3 separate regions of the Homo sapiens genome follow, and regions 1 and 2 are each linked to region 3. The links are contacts of gene promoters, found by promoter capture Hi-C in blood cells and fetal thymus (Javierre and others, 2016). All regions are on one chromosome and are shown on one strand. Each heading gives the region's core, a stretch centred on a gene start or on the middle of the fragment in contact. The rest is flanking DNA. Distances are from core to core; before and after follow the strand shown. Region 1 has its middle 93 kb from the start of CD83. Region 2 has its middle 69 kb from the start of CD83. Region 3 holds the start of RNF182 (ring finger protein 182).

Region 1 (3,444 bases), core at 239-2,738, 100 kb after region 3:
CATGTGGCACTGTAAGTCAATTAAACCTCTTCTCTTTAAAAATCACCTAGTCTCTGGTAGTATCTGTATAGCAGTGTGAGAATGGACTGGAGCGAGGATTGAATCGGGTAGTGCAGTGAATGGCAGACCTTGCGGAGGGTCCGCTTCTCTTGTTCTAGCACCCAGGATGGGCCGTCCTCAGGGTGTGGCCCCAGGAGCTCCTGGCTTCAGAATGGCAGAGCCAGTGTGGCCTTACTGCTCACAAGGTAGGCATCCCTCTTTGGTTCTTTTTTTTTTTTTGAAGACGGAGTCTTGCTCTGTCACCCAGGCTGGAGTACAGTGGCATGATCTCGGCTCACTGTAACCTCTACCTCCCAGGTTCAAACAATTCTCCTGCCTCAGCCTCCTGAGTAGCTGAGATTGCGGGCACCTGCCACCATGCTCAGCTAATTTTTGTAGTTTTAGTAGAGATGGGGTTTCACCATGTTGGCCAGGCTGGCCTCCAATTCTTGACCTCAGGTGATCCACCCACCTCGGCCTCCCAAAGTGCTGGGATTACAGGCATGAGCCACCGTGCCCGGCACCTCCTTGGCTCTTAAGGGTCAAAATACAGTGTTGTTGTTGCTGTTGTTTTTTCATCAGTCTTCATTATTTTAGTTTCGATGGAGGGAGGCTGTAATGTCCCAAATGCTTTATCTTGGGCAGTGGGATCAGCATAGCCCTTGGAATCACCTGCCACCTACAGTGTTGCTGGAAGAAGCAGCACCCCGCCACATGCTCTTTTTTTGAGGTTTTGCCTCAGTAAATCCTTACGAGGCTCAGGCAGACAATTTATCCCATCATTTGGCCGTGATTTTTGTTAATAGAAGAAAGGTAGTAATTGTGGAATGCAGCCTGCAGGAAGTAAACAAAATACTTCCCTGCTTAATAAGCCTTTCATTCATTTTCTCAATCTCCTGCTGGGTTTGTCTTTGTCTTTTTCTTTTTCAAAATGGAAAAACCATTTTGTTGATTTTTTCCCTCATTGAAAGACTTTAATGGAAGAAATATTATGGGATATTTAGTCCTCTGCCTCCTTTCTCCTCCCTGAAGCTCTGCTTCAATCATATCAAACTGGCTGCAGCTGGGGCTTCAGAACCCAGCTGAGAATAAAACCGGGATAGAGTGGAGCACCACGCTGCCATTTTGCTCCCTGGGGCTGTACACGGTGGGGCAGGCTTTGTCCTAGATCCCAAAACAGCGGTGCTGAGTGTTCTATGTGCAGAGCTTTATGCAAATACCTGCACACTTCTGCCTGCATCTCACCCTGGTCCATAAAACTGGACCACCAGTGCCTGAAGACCATACTAATCAGGAGTGGGGAGCCCAGAAAACAAGCCTGCCCAGCTCCTGCCTGCAGGAGCTCTCAGTCTGATCTGCAGAGGAGGTATAGGCCTTAGATGGGAGGCCATGGGGACCGCATTGCTAACAGCTGTGGTGAGTGGGGCTTGGGGAAAGTAGGGGAGCTGTTGAGTGGTGGGATGGGGATCTGCTCTTCCCTGGATGCTCCAGGCTGAGGCAAATCACTTGAAAAGGGCATTGTTTGGAGCTCTGCATTCACAATCATATCTGAGACTGAACTAAGGGAAGAAAAACAATGAAGGGTGGGGAAGGGAAGGAGTTAGAAGAACAAAGTAGGCAGCAGCCCTATTTGCGAGCCCTCTGCCTCTCAGTGAGTGCTTTTTTTTTACAGGAGCCCAAGCTCTTCCTTTCCCTGAGGTTTCTGCAGACACTGACAGGAGTGATGCAGAGGCTGGAAGTGTAGAGCTGTAGGACAGACTGATCCTCAGCCTCCGGAAGAGGGGCCTTTGAAAGCTCAGCCCTCGGGTCCCTGCTAAGGTGTGCACCGCAGCCCCAGCAGCCTGAGCACAGCCTTTCTACTCACACTGAGGACTAACTTGATGACATCCTGCCCATCTTTGGGTTCGCTTGCATTTGCTGCCAAGACTAAGGCATAGCCATTGTCTAGGTCTTTCAGCTTTTGAAACATTTTCCTCTACTTCCTCTATCAGACAGTATCTAAATGACACCAATAAGTGAAACTGAAGCAGTCAGATCTGTGGCCCCGTTTAGGGTTTGGCAATGAATGATAGTGAAGGTGGCTTCCCGGGCCCATCCCGAATGTTTAATTCACTCTTGCGTCAGTGAGCTCACCCCTCACAACTGCCACATTAGCAACCTCACTCTAATAACTTTCCTGGCAAAGGCAGAAGTGACAGCCCAACCTCAATCATTACATCACTCCCCAACCCCTTCGCATAGACCGCCTCCCATGGCTTACCACAGCATCTGAAAACACCCATGGCGCTGAGGCTGGCGTTGCCACTTGCAATGATCTGGCCCCTGCTGCCTTCCCAGCACCTGCTCCACCCCACCTTCACTTAGTCTCTGTTCTAGGAAAACTGTATCCACTCTTCCTGAACATTCTCTGTACCTTCCCACTTCTCTGCTTTTCCTTAAGGGGTTCTACCACAGGAATACCCTCCACATCTCTACCTGCTGAAATCTCATCGTCCTCCAGGGCACAATGCAAATGTGATTTTCTTGATGAAGCCCTTCGTGATTTCTGCAGCTTCATTATGACTTTCTGAACTTGTGTCTCCTTGTTCATTCCTGACCATGGTTCACACCCTAAGCCCTCATCTTTGATATGGGTCATCAACTTTCTGGACCAACTTTTTAAAAACAAATATGCATTGAAGGCTTACAGTGTTCCCACTACTTTGCAGAGATTGGCAATGGAAAGATGATTAAGAGACTGAATGTGTCTTTGAGGACATCAAAAATCCAGGCAGGTAAACAGCTAATTACAATGAAATGTGCTAAGACACAGGAACAGGATTCTGGGAGTACACAGAGATGGACAAGGGCCCAAAGCTACTGAAGTTCCTGGTGTGTGCAAGGAATAGTTGCTAGTCTCTGGGTGGTTAGAGGAAGGACTTGTATAGGGGTGCATTGGGAAGTGAAGCTGGAAAACCATGATCCCAGATTGTAAGGGAATTTGTGGGTCAAGCTATTTTGCAGGCAATAAGAAAGCATCAGAAATCATGGAGCAGGGGAGTGATGGGTCAGAGCTGAATTTCACAAAGGCTCCTTTGACCTGAGCAGGTTCTACTCCTGGCCCAATTACAGCTGAGTTCCTGAGTACCCAGCAACCGCAGGGTGCCTGGCTGTTCCCTGGCAGCAGTGGGGTTCTGTCACATCAGCCATCAGTAGGGAGTTCCTGTCTCATTGCCTCCACATGCGTTCCGAAAGCCAAGTGCAGGAAGTGAGCATGTGGATTAGGAGTATGTCCAGGCAGAGATGCTGGCCCCAGTAGGGCCTATAATCATAATGGGGTCCACATATGTGGCCTGTTAAATCCTGCCTATCCTCGATAGGCATTGAGAAATGAGTGGTCCCTCCATGGGGCGAGGTGGGAAGAAC
Region 2 (3,445 bases), core at 862-3,361, 120 kb after region 3:
CAGTAGGTGGTTTATGAATGTTAGCTGAATAAATGAATGGGCATCAAGCATATCTAAGAATTGGGTATCGTGATAAAAGATTAATAAGACATTGTCCCGGCCTTTTAGAAGTTCATAATCTAGATTTGGACCAAAAAGCACTATGATTGAAGGAAGAACTGTTGACACTAGCCCTTTATAATCTAGAGGACACTGGCCCTAGGAAATCATTCACACTTATCTTCAATATTTGAAGAGCTGTCTGTGGAAGAAAGATTAGACTAGTTCAGTTTAGTTCCAAAGAACTTTCCAATTGGTAGAAGGTAGGAGGCAAAAATTTCAGCTTGACAAAAATCTCAGAATTGTCTGAAGTAGTTTTGGTTTGCTTTGCACATCATGGAAGGCATTTAATCATAAAAACTAATTTTCCTTAGTCCTTTCTCAGACATACTGAACCAGAGTCTCCAGGAGGAGGTCCCAGGAATCTCTATTTGATAATAAGCTCCTTGATGATTCAGAGGCAGCTGTCTGCAGACTGTTGTTAGAGAATTAGGGATTGGACTGGGAGACTCAGGTATGAGAGGACTAGTGGAACTAAATGATCTGAAACCATAAGATTTTATGGTTCCAGCTCAGCATGGTGGCTCACGCCTGTAATCTCAGCACTTTGGGAGGCTGAAGTGGATGGATCACCTGAGGTCAGGAGTTTGAGACCAGCTTGACCAAAATGGTGAAACCCCATCTCTACTAAAAATATAAAAAATTAGCTGGGCATGGTGGTACGTGCGTGTAGCCCCAGCTATTCAGGAGGCTGAGGCAGGAGAATCCCTTGAACCTGGGAGGCGCACGTTGCAGTGAGCCGAGGTTGTGCCATTGCACTCCAGCCTGGGCAAAAAGAGCAAAATTCTGTCTCAAAAAAAAAAAAAAAAAAAGATTTTATGGTTCCAGAAGATCATGGAACTCTCTTCTTAATAATGGTAATATTAGTCATTGTGGTCTTTGCTGGGACTGCTACCAAACTAGAAAACCAAATCAAGAAGGTGGGCATGGGAGTCTGGCAGATGTTTTAAGCAACATAGGGTAAAACTCCATGCATTCTACACCCTGCAGAGGGTAGAAATGATTGACCTTCAAATACCCACGCCCAAATACCCCACCTTACAAATTACTGTATTGTAGTCAAATTTGTAGTGATGATTTCTACATATCTCATTTCTAATTTAGAGCACTTGGAGAGGTAACTGAAATAATCGGTCAACTTCTTTTAAGGAGAATTATCAAATAATGAAATGTTTGTTGAACTGATATGGTTTGGCTGTGTCCCCACCTAAATCTCATCTTGAATTATAAGCCCCACAATCCCCACATGTTGTGGGGGGGTAATTCAATAATGGGGGCTGTTTCCCATATGCTGTTCTCAAGATAGTGAGTGAGTTCTCACAAGCTCTGATGGTTTTATGCACTGTTTTTGTTTGCGGGAGGTTTGACAATTTATACCAGGAGTAGGGAAAGGAGTTGAAGGTTAATTGCTCACCCTTCTAAGCTTTTAAAGCTAAAAACACTTATTTAGGAACTCAGATGAGGAGGAATGGGGAGCTCTTATTATAGAAGTCCTAGCCTGCACTGACTCATCCATTTTAAGTACTCATTAAATATTAGACGTGATGATTATTTATTGAGTGCAGAATTGGAGAGTGGCACAAAGATGAATAGTCTATGGTCCCTGCTTTCAAAGATCTCGGAGTCTAGCCTTGATGACGTAATCACAGTGAATGTGACAAGTGTTATATTAGAGGTTCTTAGGGCATGTGGCAAGGGAATGTACAAAGGTGTGTGTCTCCAACCCAGTCTGACCAGAGATTGTATGAATGGGGCTAGTTACCTTTCCCTGACCAGGTCATTAATTTACAGAGGTTGGGGCATTGTTGCTTTTGTTGGTTTGTTTCAGACTGGAAGAAGGAGGAAAGGCTTATGCGTGGTTCCCAGGATGCTGAAGAGAAAGACAGGAGTGTGGAGGGGAAGGCATGACTCCCTTCGCTGCCTGGTCTGAGAGGCTGGACCTACAATGAGAGGAAACACAACCAGAGGTAAAGGAGGGTCAATAAGACTTGGAGTACACATAGTGGAGTGTTTCAAGGCTCTTGCAACCTAATAAGGCACAGAGCAGAAGGAGAGCCATTTTCCCATGGTCTGCCATAGGCCAGAGCAGCCCAGGGAAGCAATTTGGACCAGGAAGTGTTGAATTTTCACAAGGGCATCTGCCACTGGGCAGAGAAGGGCACCTCCTCAAGGAGATATGGGTATCAAAAACTGAAGTTCACCCATGGAGGTGTTGCTGAGCTCCTTTATGAGAGCCCTTGGGGACCCACAAAAATAACTAGGGGATAATTTGAGGGTGGACTTAGTTCTAGGGTCAGCGTTTAAGAAGTTGGTAAAATTCAGGTAATCAAGATCCAGTCATGCATCACTTGGTGATGGGGATATGTTCTGAGAAACGCATCGTCGGGCAATTTTGTCATTACACGAACATCATAAAGTGTACCTACACAAACCTAGATGGTATGGCCTACTACACACCTAGGCTATATGGTATAGGCTATTGTTTCCAGGATACAAACCTGTACAGCGTGCTACTGTACTGAATACTGTAGGCAATTGGAACACAATGGTACTTATTTGTGTATCTATATACAGAAAAGATACAATAAAAATATGCTGTTACAAGCTTATGGGGCCACCTTGGTATATGTGATCTGTTGTTGACTGAGACATCATGGCTGTTTCTGTTCTAGGAACACGGAGAAAGTAAAAATCTGTGAGAAGGTCCTGGTAGATGGGGCTACAGAAATGTGTAGAAAGGACATTATGAACTGGGCTTCAAAGATTAAGTAGGAGTTTGTTAGGCTGACATGGGTTGGTGAGTATCTCAGACAGAGAGTCAGTATCCTTTCTAGAGTATCTCCCTTGCACCTTCGTACCTTTTCCCCAACACCCAGTATTAACTCAGTGCTTCCTTGTGCCATCTAGTTATGCTGCGGGGAGCAGCGTTGTCTTTGGGGTCTCTCTCCTGCTCAGTCTTCTCATAATCATGCCCATGACGTCCATTGTAGACTGCTGGCCCTGTGCTTCTCCACTTTACCATGGGTGGGGCTTGGAGGTGGCCTCAAATGCTAGAACAGGGAAAAGGAGACATCTCTGTCCATCTATGTCCATATTACAGATTCATATATACACATCTAAGGGAGAGTGATTCTTATTTAACAGCAATACAAGTTCCACTTGAAAGCCCCTGTTCTCTCTTTTCCTTACCACCAGCATCATGGTTAGACTGCTGGGCTGGGTGGATAGGCATGTAGAATGAGTGGCAGAGAATGCTGGATTACCAAACAGTGCAGGGCAGAGCAGGTGAATGAGGGGAGCTGAGATGGACCAACCAGCAGCTTGTGGGGTGGCACAGAAACACTTT
Region 3 (3,272 bases), core at 267-2,766:
CATTTACTATTACAAAACTTCTGCAATGCATATCCTTTTATATCTATCATTACACATTTGTGTGTTTCTGTATGACAGATCTCTAGAATTGAGATAGCTGGGAGAAATGTATGTGCATTTTGAATTCTGGCAGGTATTGCCAAATGCTTAATGGCCTGCCAAAAAGACCTTGTCTTTTGACTTCATCTGGAATATTATTGACTTCATTCAGAATATTCCCATTACAAGAAAGTGGCCAGTCTCTCCGAGGAACAAACTGTTTTCCTTTTCCACCATGAAATAGATCTTATCTTTTCATTAGTTAATATAGGTGTACCTTCAAATGGCAATAACATTGTTCTGCTTTGTGGCTTCTCAAGTAGTAAACCCAGAAAACATCAGCTACCGTGGATTTTATTATAAATCATTGACATTCCTTTGGTGATTCACAAATGCCAAAAAATAAATGTCATGTTCCCCAGGGTTTGAAGAAAGACACTGTAGCTTTTGGATTCAGCAACGGATCTTTCAAGAAAACAGTATGGAGGGATGACTCACTCCCCCCATGGAGGCTGCCCTCTAGTTCGTCCTTTAGAGGAAGCATGACCAAGGGTCTGCTGGTACTTTTCTCTCCCTCTCTAAGAATTTCCTCAGGAGAGGAAAAAGTTAGCTTTCTTTTCTCTGCTCCTGAGTGCCATGGCCTGCAGTACGTGACCAGTCCTTGGCACAGAGTCACTCAGGGCTCATGGTAGATGCTTAGCGGTCACAGCCAGTAGCTGCGCAGTGTGGCAGCAGCTGAGATCCATACTGCAGCCTGAAAGTTGTGTTTCAGCTTCTGAGGTTACAAGTGTATCCAGTGTTTACATCAGAGATAAAGCCCCCTTTCCCCTCTCTCCTACGGGAGCCCTCAACAAGACAGATACACGGGTTGGGTGGAGTGAGACCACATCCAGCAGAGGCAAAGCTTGCTAAAAGAGAGAGGAGGAGGAGGGGGAGAGGGAGGAGGCGGCACGGCGTCCCTTGGCAGCTCCGTGCATGCTGCGGCAGTTGCAACAGGAGAACCGAGTACCAGTTGCTCAACACTTTATCACTTTGCATTGCTCTTTCTCCTCCCTTAAGTGAATTTCCATTTTGAGGGTACAGCTCCACAGGAGAAAGGTGTGGTGGTGGTAGTGGTGGAGGGTGTCTGTGGGGGGGATGGTGGTGCGACGGGAGTTGGAATGTCCAGTGTGGGGAAGCAAAGGAGTGCCTACTAGGATGCGAATACCACTTGGCCCTGGGCTCGCTCCGCTTTAGCCTTCCCCTCTCGCTGGGGAGAAACAGGCGGTTTGTGAGGGAGACTGAGAGAGGGGCGTGTTTGTGGTGGTGGCGGCCCATCGGGGGTCCTTGTCCTCTCCGAATACCCGGACTGCTGAGGGGAAGGGCCGGGGGGGCCCCGGCGGTTGCCATGGTGACGCAGGGTCGGCGGCTCAGCGCCGTAGAGACAAAGCCGCCCGCCCGCCAGCCCGCTAGCTCCTCGCGCGAGCTCCTCCTCCACGGGAACCTCCCTCCCCTCCCAGGCGCCGCCGCAGCCGGAGCGGCTCCCGGGCCCTGGGCCGCCGCCGGCCAGGTAAGGCGATCGCGCCCGCGGCCGGGGAGGGGTCGGCGGGACGCCGGGCCTCCCCAACGCTGGGGCAGCAGCCAGCCCCGCAGTCCTGGACGGCGCCGGGCCGCCCAAGCGCGCCGAGGAGAGGGGGCGGCAAACTTCGGGCCGAGCGGCGCCGGGGCCCGCGCGCGGAGTCTCCCTCCGGGCACCACGGGGGCCGCCGTCCTGGCACCAACTTGAGGGGCTGTGCGGCGGAGGGCGGCTGCGGAGCGCCCGCGCGGGCTGCACCTGCTCAGGGAGCTGCCCCTCTGTTGTTGTTGTTATTTTCCTTCTTGGCGTGCCATCGAGGCTTTTGGGGGAAAAAAAGGTATGAAAGTATTTACCTTTGGACTTTCATGTTTCATGGCATTCTCTTTGAGGAGGGGTTGGGAGGGTAGTAAGAGGGACAAGCGAAAGATTTTTACGAATCTCTGAAAAGTGAGCCCATTTTTATGCCTGTGGCTGAAGCATTTTGAGGAGGCTTCTGAAGTTCGTTTGGATATTGAATCGAAAGACCTTTTTTTCTTTGGAAGGTGCAGTTGCACCTATAACTGGATGGTAAGGGTAGCCCGGCTTTCCCCGACTAGCAAGACCAGAATGTAGAGCAGTACCGATACTTTGTCAAGGAGATACTTGGCACCGAGGTCATTGCTTTTGTTTCTAGAAGGTATTGTGTTCATGCTGTAAGGAACTGGAAAGTGCCTTTTGTTTTTATGTGTAGGGAGGCAATCCAAAGCACCTCTGGAGGCAGGTAGCTGGGCGGTGTTTGCATCGGTGTTTATGAGTGGGATGATGAGGACCACGATGCGGTTGCCACTGGGGCACTGGATAGGTTATAGGTACCTTTCTCAGTGGCCCCAACCCTTGCAATCATTTCGTGATAGTTTGTTGCAGACGCGAAGCACAGATTTAAATTGTGACTGTGAAGACTTTTTTTTTTGGTACTTAGACATCATCTTACATGTAGTAATATGAAAGAAAACAGATACATTTTCAGAAATACAGTTGATCAATTCAGAAGGAAATTGTATATATGTTAATAAGATTTGTTTTAAATCATATTTAAACAATATGAGATGTCATATTGATAACTGGAAAATAATCTAACATATAAAATTGTATATCCAACTTAGTAAAATAATGTATAAGTTGGAATAGGTCATTTAAAGAACTATATGGAATGCAAGAAATTATATTTTTGCTAGAGAGTAATTAATGAAAACAGTACCACTGATCATTTTGAATTGCAGTTAAGTTGATTGGAATTCTGCATATTACAGCTACTTGAGGTGTCAGGCAAAGAGTGATTATTTAATATTCCTCTTCCCTCTTTTGGGATTTCAACACCTGTTAGCCTGCTGATTACTAGGTTTCTCAGTCTGTTCATATTTGCCAGCAACTTCAAGTAATGCCACTTCATTAGAAGATTGTATTGGAAACTAAAGGATTGAAGTTGCAATTAACAGTTTGCAGGTTATTTCACAATTGGGCTTGTTTTTAAACTGAATTTTACCTGTGGAAGATTCACAGATGCTCTGCTAAATACTCTTTCATGACGGTAATAAAATCGTACATTGATTAAAACGAAGTAGATCTGTTTTGAGAAGATAAACGGGAGAGAAAAGTATTTTCTCACTTAAGCATGAACAGCAAATAGGATATTGAAGCC

What was found. The method cuts DNA at HindIII sites, captures the fragments that hold promoters and counts their contacts. A CHiCAGO score of 5 or more calls a contact.
Region 1: a contact is called between a fragment that was not itself captured here and the fragment with the promoter of RNF182 in region 3, in 1 of 17 cell types (endothelial precursors). The highest score is 5.2, in endothelial precursors.
Region 2: a fragment that was not itself captured here is called in contact with the fragment with the promoter of RNF182 in region 3 in 1 of 17 cell types (endothelial precursors); the score reaches 6.6 in endothelial precursors.

The regions. Positions count from the first base shown.
Region 1 is chr6:14,023,183-14,026,626 of GRCh38, forward strand. No RefSeq gene overlaps it. Among named protein-coding and RNA genes, the nearest start is that of CD83, 93 kb to the right of the region's middle. The HindIII fragment of the contact is 4,178 bases long and covers 1-3,444 here.
Region 2 is chr6:14,047,339-14,050,783 of GRCh38, forward strand. No RefSeq gene overlaps it. Among named protein-coding and RNA genes, the nearest start is that of CD83, 69 kb to the right of the region's middle. The HindIII fragment of the contact is 1,182 bases long and covers 1,521-2,702 here.
Region 3 is chr6:13,923,436-13,926,707 of GRCh38, forward strand. It overlaps RNF182 (ring finger protein 182), which reads left to right and starts at 1,517. Exons shown (of 3, transcript NM_152737.4): 1 at 1,517-1,588. RefSeq lists an enhancer at 412-912. The HindIII fragment of the contact is 2,801 bases long and covers 942-3,272 here.